2 separate regions of the Homo sapiens genome follow, and region 2 is linked to region 1. Evidence: promoter capture Hi-C in 16 types of primary human blood cells and fetal thymus (Javierre and others, 2016). All regions are on one chromosome and are shown on one strand. The core of a region is centred on a gene start or on the middle of the fragment in contact, and the rest is flanking DNA. Distances in the headings are between cores, read along the strand shown.

Region 1 (3,118 bases), core at 575-3,074:
CAGTACCTCTAGTAACTGATTCTCCTGGCTGACTAAACTATTCAAACAAAGACAGATTTCCCAAACACTGGGAAGTTTTTGCATGAAAGTTAAACAGTATACATTTGTGTGTTTCTTAATAGAAATATAAATGTTTCTGTTCTACACACTGCCAAACACACACCCAGGGCACGTCTTTACAAAATGAAACAGGTTTTCTCCATCCTTCTCATATAACTTCAAGTATGAGGCAGTTCATTCCAACATGTGCATAACAGAGACTGCAGTATTTGGTGCTTCTCGGGTTCCAAAGAATGCTTTCTAGTTAAGCACTAATTTAAAATTTCCAGAAAATTTTTTGAAGGTTTTCTTTCATCTTATCTTAAAAGTTGAACTATCCCCAAATTTTCAGCTAAAAATAGACTGAGGGTGGGGGAGAACTACAAAATGTCATAGAATGTTTAGAATTATGCTGACAATAAACTCATTTCATTTTCTAACACCCTCCCCACCTTCCTCTCCTTGGAGACACTGTCCACTAGGTATGCCAAGTGTCAGTTGGGAATTTGAGGGTTATGTTATCAGCGCCGAAAGGAATCAGAATTCACTGACTTGGCGTCTTTCATCTTTACTGGCATAGGCCTGAAAATAAATCTCATGTGAGCTTTTAGTCCAACCTCCTGTTTTTCAAGGTGTCTGGTTTGGGACACAAAGGCTGACTTTCTGTTGATGAGGTTCTCTAAATTCTGGATTCCCACTGGAAAGCAGTCTGCCCTTAAAGCACCTGCCACCCTCTGTCGTCCTGATGAGGAAGGGCAGGCATTCTGGAAACAGCTCCTTTTGGAGAGCCTTCCACCTGATTTGGTGGGGTTAGGGAGAACAATGAAGGGAAGGGCAAGAGAGTCTATCTATCCCCCTCAGTGATTTATTGCTGAAATTCCTAGATGTGGAGAGAAAGCAACAAAGGTCTGGAAGCTGCCGACTGAAATAAATAGCGAGCTGTAATGTATTTAGCAAATGATAATGCAATCCACAGAAAGCTTTACAGAGGAGAAGGAAAAATACACTCCCTGGGGCTGGGAAGTCAGTGAGTCTTGTGAAGGCAGAGAAAGATACATTGTGCAGGAAATTTCTCTTGCTTCTCCCTACACATAAATCACTGTCTCTCGCGGGCGCTCTGCAGGGATGGAGATTGAGAGAGGCCAGGGACCCGGCTCCCTTGGGAAAACGCGCGGGCGCCCTAGCTCCCCGCTCTGCGGCATCTCACCTGCCCCCGAGGACCATCGTCAAGAAGAGGTTTCGTCGTGTCACTGACACCTCACCCCGCCTCCTCCCGCGAGGTGCCTCCGAGCCCCCGAGGACGCGGAACGCCGGGGCTCCCCGCCGGGCAAGCATCAGCATCCAGACCCCGCACGCAGCCCTGCACCCCCACGCCCTCCAGGGAACGCCGGCCCGCCCGTCCCCGGGACCTCCCGTCCCCTAAGCCAAGGCCCCCCAAGCCCAGTGCCCGCGCGCCACCCCTCCCTCCGACCCTGCGGCGGGACCCCCACCCCCGCACCTCTCCGCGGGGCTGGCTAAGCCTCCAGACCTCCTGCGCTGCAGCCGGCTCGGAAAGCCACCCCCAGGTCATCCCCCCGCGCGCGCGCGGCGGCGGCTACGGTGGCGGCGGCTGCGATCCGAACGGGCCCCTCCATGCACCGCGCAGGGCAGAGGAGGGAGCGGCGCCTCGCACGCCGGGGCTGGGGCGCTGGGCAGGGCGGGCGGGCGTGGGGTCCCGGGTCTCCTCGCACCTAGCCGCGCGAGCCGGGCTCCCGGGCTCAGGGGAGGGGAGCTGAGGGGCGGAGTCACCGGGGCGCGCCCCCGCGGCTGCGCTCCTCCCCGCCGGGGAGCGCGGGCACGTAACTCGGAGGGTGCTGGGCCGGCCCGGAGCACGCGAGCAGCGGGAGGAGGGACCGGGGAATGACTGACGGAGGCGGGCCGTAGAGGCCGCTGTGCCCCGCCGGCCCGCACCCGGCCGGAGTGTGCGCGCGCAGCCTGCCAGATCAGCGGCGGGGGCACGGGCCGTACCAAGTGACGGAGGGGGGCACGCTCTGGGCAGGACCCTCTCCTCGTCATTGACCTGCCTACTCTGCAAGAGAGATACCCCAGGGGAGCATAGAAGAGGCTTTTCTTGGGTGTAGGACAGGTAAGGGTGAGTTGCCTTACCAAGTCACGGAGATTCCCATCATGCCTGCACTCACGCTCCCCTCACCTTTCATTCCCTTGGAGAGACGGCTCTTCTGGCAGGTCTCCAAATGGTCGACTCTGTCCCCCGAGGCCCCGCCCTAGCCTCGTTCGGGCCCCGCCCTAGCCTCGTTCGGGCCCCGCCCTAGCCTCGTTCAGGCCCCGCCCCTCGCCCCGCCCCGCCCCTCGCCTCTACCTAAGTTCTCTGAGCCGCCAACGGGTGCATCCCTTCTCCCGGTTCTTGCCTGGTCTCTCTTAGGGTTCCAGCGGCCCACCGCTTATACCTCCTTCGCCTTTCCACCACTTTCCATGTTTAATTCCTTAGGCAGCTTCATCTGATTCCCCCACCACCACCCACCCGCCCTGCCTGCACATAAACGCAAGCAGGTAGCAAAACTCAGGGGCTAGGAGAGGCGTGGTGTGAGCCTTTGGCCCCAGAGTCTTTCCAACTCGTCCGTTGGACCTGCCCCAAGTTATCTGAACTCAATGAACTTCAGTTGTTCAAACAGAAAAAGGAAAAATAAATTTCTATTCAAAATGTTGCTGTGAAGCGTAAATACGATACTTTGTGAAAAGCACCTGCCACTCAGTGGGCATTCAAGGACTGTAACTTCTTTATAAATTGTTATTATTAGCAGTTAGCTCTTTTTTTTCCCCATCATCATTACTTACTATTAGCTTAACTACAAAAGGATCCCTAATAATAGTTAAGTTTATAAATACTCAGTACTGAACTTCAGGAGAAATATGCCAGTCCTCCCTTACCTTCTTACGTGAATTTTAAAAAGAAATGCTTTGAAAGTGTGGTATTGTTCAAGCAGGTTAGCTTTCTGCATTAGCTAGATTCAGGGTTTTTGTAAAGCCCCTGGAAAGAAAGTCAGTACAGGACGGAAAAAAAAAACACAATTTTTTTTCT
Region 2 (3,384 bases), core at 261-2,760, 1.1 Mb before region 1:
GGAGTGGAAAGCTTAGTAGGAGAATGGTTGCTGACAGGATTATGGAAAATAGGGATGGTAGAGTACCTTAGGAAATTTTGGAGAAGGGATTGACTTTGTTTAATATTTACAGGTGAATGTCATGATCAACCAGTGTTTTCTTTAGATGAATTGCTTCAAAGGTTTTGAAGGATAGGGAGTGATTGGATCCTGGGGATAAATTAGAATATAATTATAATAATTTAAGCATGGAGTATAGCATCGAAACTTTGTTAGTGGTAAGAAATAGAGAAGAACAGCCTTGAAAAAGGATGATTGAAGTGCTTGAGCCCACGAATTGTAGGCTGCAGTGAACTATGATCATACTACTGCACTCTAGCCTGGGCAATAGAGTGAGACCCCATCTCTGGAAAAAAAAAAGGAGTGGAATGAGAAGGGATGAATGCAGGAAACACCCCACAAGACTTGGTAAGATTTGGTATAAAGATATTTTGGTATTTAAGTTGTTGACACCTCTTTGTAATTGCTCAAATTACATCTGTATAATATCAGTAGTGTCAACATGCCTAAAATTTGACACCATCAAACTTTTTCTATGTTAAGAAGTATTGACTATCGTATTCACACACATTAACTCAAAATATTAAAGTCTTGGAACATGGATAAACATATCTCCTTTTCCTGATTTAAAAATTTCTGATCAGTTCCAGCCAAAGGGAGTTTGATCAAGCATCTAATAGAACTCCTTATAGCTTTAGCATATCTAGTCTGGGTATCCACCCTTATTAACGGATATAGCTCTGTCAGCTCAAAATAAATGCTGAATAGTTACTTCTAAAGCTTGGCCCTTAGATCATGTCTGTTCTAAAGGGGAACTTCTACTCATTTTTCTCCCCAAAATTTCAGGGGGCCATCAGGATTCCTAAAAATGTCATAGCTTTAGACTACCTCCCCCCAATAATTATTAATAAATTAGCATCAAAAGACACTGCTGTTCTATCATCATATATGGGATTGCATTATTTTATAATTTGTTCTGGTTACCTTTTGCTGTGTAACCAACCACCCCAGAACTTAGTGGTATAAAGCAAATAATACTATGTAACAGGAATTTGAGCAGGGTACAGTGGTAATGGCTTGTTTCTGCCCCATAGTGTCTGGGACCTCAGCTGGGGCTCAAATAACTGGACATGTCTGAGACACCTTGACTATTTTCCGGCTATTGGCTGGAGCTAGACAATAGTCAAGTTCTCCCAGTAATGTGGCACCTGCTGGGCTGTAATGTCCAAGATGGCTTTCTTATTCACATATCTGACGCTTGGCCTAGGATGACTAGAATGTCTGGGTGCTGGTTAGATATGTTTCTCTTTTCACATGGCTTCTCTGTTTGACTAACTTGGGCTTCCTCACAGCATGGTAATCTCAGGGTAGTCTGAATTTTTATATGGTGCTGACTTCCTTCAGAATGAGCACTCTAAGAACAGAGGTGGAAGTTTCTTTATGACCTGGCTTGTAATCTTGTGGAGTAAAAGAGGAGCAGAGAAAATGGAGGTAAAAGAAAGAGGCCGAATGGCTTAAACTTGTCTGGGGCTTGAGTTAAGCTGGGTCAGTTGTTCAGGCTTCATTACGTATATATCTCTCCGTTGGAATTATTTTACCTAATTGTTCTTTGACACTTGTACACTCCACTAGAGTAGTTTATGGGATAGACATCTTGGAAATTTTAACTTAAATTGAAATTTGAATGCATTTGATTTTGAGAATTTAATGACAGCCTGTAAAATGATCTGAGGTACCCTTCAGAATTAGAAGTTGGAATCACTGAGTTAGAAGGAATAGGTACGAGATATGATGATGATTTTATTTAATTTGAAAATTCCTAGTGAAAGAGAGACATAGTCAAGAGAAAAGCAGTGTAGAGAGGAACATAATTGTTGGAGTCAGAAACTTCTAATTCTGCTACTAGTTAGCTATATTAAAATTACTTAATCTTTCTGAACTCCAGCTTCCTCATCTGTAACATAAGGGATAAGAATACCTACTGCCAAAGGTGGTTTTGAGGATAGAGTGCTACAAAGTAGTTAAAATACTTGTCACCTGATAGATCCATAATAATGATAAGTGCTGTTATGATGATGACTATGATTATTATTCAAAGCACTTAGAGGAGATAAATGCAGATCAAGAACTCAAATGGGATAAAGTGTTCCAGATTGTTCAGAACAAGCTTGTCCAACATGCGGCCATGGGCCACATGTGGCCCAGGATGGCTTTGAATGCGACCCAATGTAAATTAATAAATTTTCTTAATTAACACTATGAGTTTTTTTGTGATTTTTTTTTTTCTCATCAGCTACTAGTGTTAATGTATTTTATGTGACAGTTCTTCCAACATGGCCCAGGGAAGCCAAAATATTGGACACCCCTGGTTTAGAATATGTTTTGGAATTGAGCAATTATATAAATATATATTGACTACCCTTATAGTGAAGGCTCTGTACTAGATGCCGTAGGGGAAATAAAGGAGAATTGAATACATATCCTGTCCTCAAAGAGTTCATAATCTAGTAGGGGAGTCAAGAAGTACTATACTCAGTTAACATTGGTGAAATGAGAGGTGTTATAGCATAAGAGGGCTTAGAGAGAGAGTGTTGTGGAAGGTACTGGGGAGTGGGTATTAAATGGTTGTGAAAACTGAATAGGCCTTTACTAGGTGGAGATGAAAGGAAGGGCATGCCAGGTTAAAAATGGAGCATAATGCCAAATATGAAGACATTTTAACAATAGGACATATTTGGTGAGTGGTAAGTAACCTGGTGTGTCTTGACTATTTACTCCATTTTAGAAAATGTGTAACGTGTTAGGTTTTATTTGGTTCATTAAGATTTAATGAAGACATCGTTAGTTCTAATTCAATAAAAAATTTAAGATTTGATACTCATACATTCCATTTTTTTTTGTACAGAATGGAATTATTTTTTTCAGGATTGTATCCTTATCCTGACTGTTTTGTGTTTAAAACAGCCCTAATGGACAAAACTGCTAACATTTAAGTTCATTTTCTGTCTTTCATCTTTAAAGACATCAGCATATTTAATTGAAGAAGAACTAAAGGAACAGCTAAGAAAAAAACAAGAAGCTTTGAAACATTTTCAGAAACAAGTTAAATACCGAGTAAATCAACAAATTAGGTTGAGAAAAAAGCAACAGCTTCAGAAGTCTTATGAAAGAGTAAGTTCAAAAGTGAGCCTGAGTAAAGATTGAATGGAAAATATGTGTGTTATGAGATAAGCTATTAGGCAGTAACAGAATTGCTTTCCTTTGATTACATGCCTAATATAATCTAATTAACTAGTGAAGACAGTAAATTTTTTTTGTAGAGAAACCATGTTTTATTCCTGTGTT

The links. The method cuts DNA at HindIII sites, captures the fragments that hold promoters and counts their contacts. A CHiCAGO score of 5 or more calls a contact.
Region 2: a contact is called between a fragment that was not itself captured here and the fragment with the promoter of CDON in region 1, in 1 of 17 cell types (activated CD4 T cells). The highest score is 7.5, in activated CD4 T cells.

What each region holds. Positions count from the first base shown.
Region 1 is chr11:126,061,042-126,064,159 of GRCh38, forward strand. CDON (cell adhesion associated, oncogene regulated) reads right to left here and starts at 1,825. Exons shown (of 20, transcript NM_001378964.1): 1 at 1,538-1,825. RefSeq lists silencers at 1,583-2,252, 2,323-2,412. The HindIII fragment of the contact is 2,855 bases long and covers 1,018-3,118 here.
Region 2 is chr11:124,956,055-124,959,438 of GRCh38, forward strand. It overlaps CCDC15 (coiled-coil domain containing 15), which reads left to right. Exons shown (of 16, transcript NM_025004.3): 3 at 3,061-3,210. Among named protein-coding and RNA genes, the nearest start is that of CCDC15, 3.5 kb to the left of the region's middle. The HindIII fragment of the contact is 1,387 bases long and covers 818-2,204 here.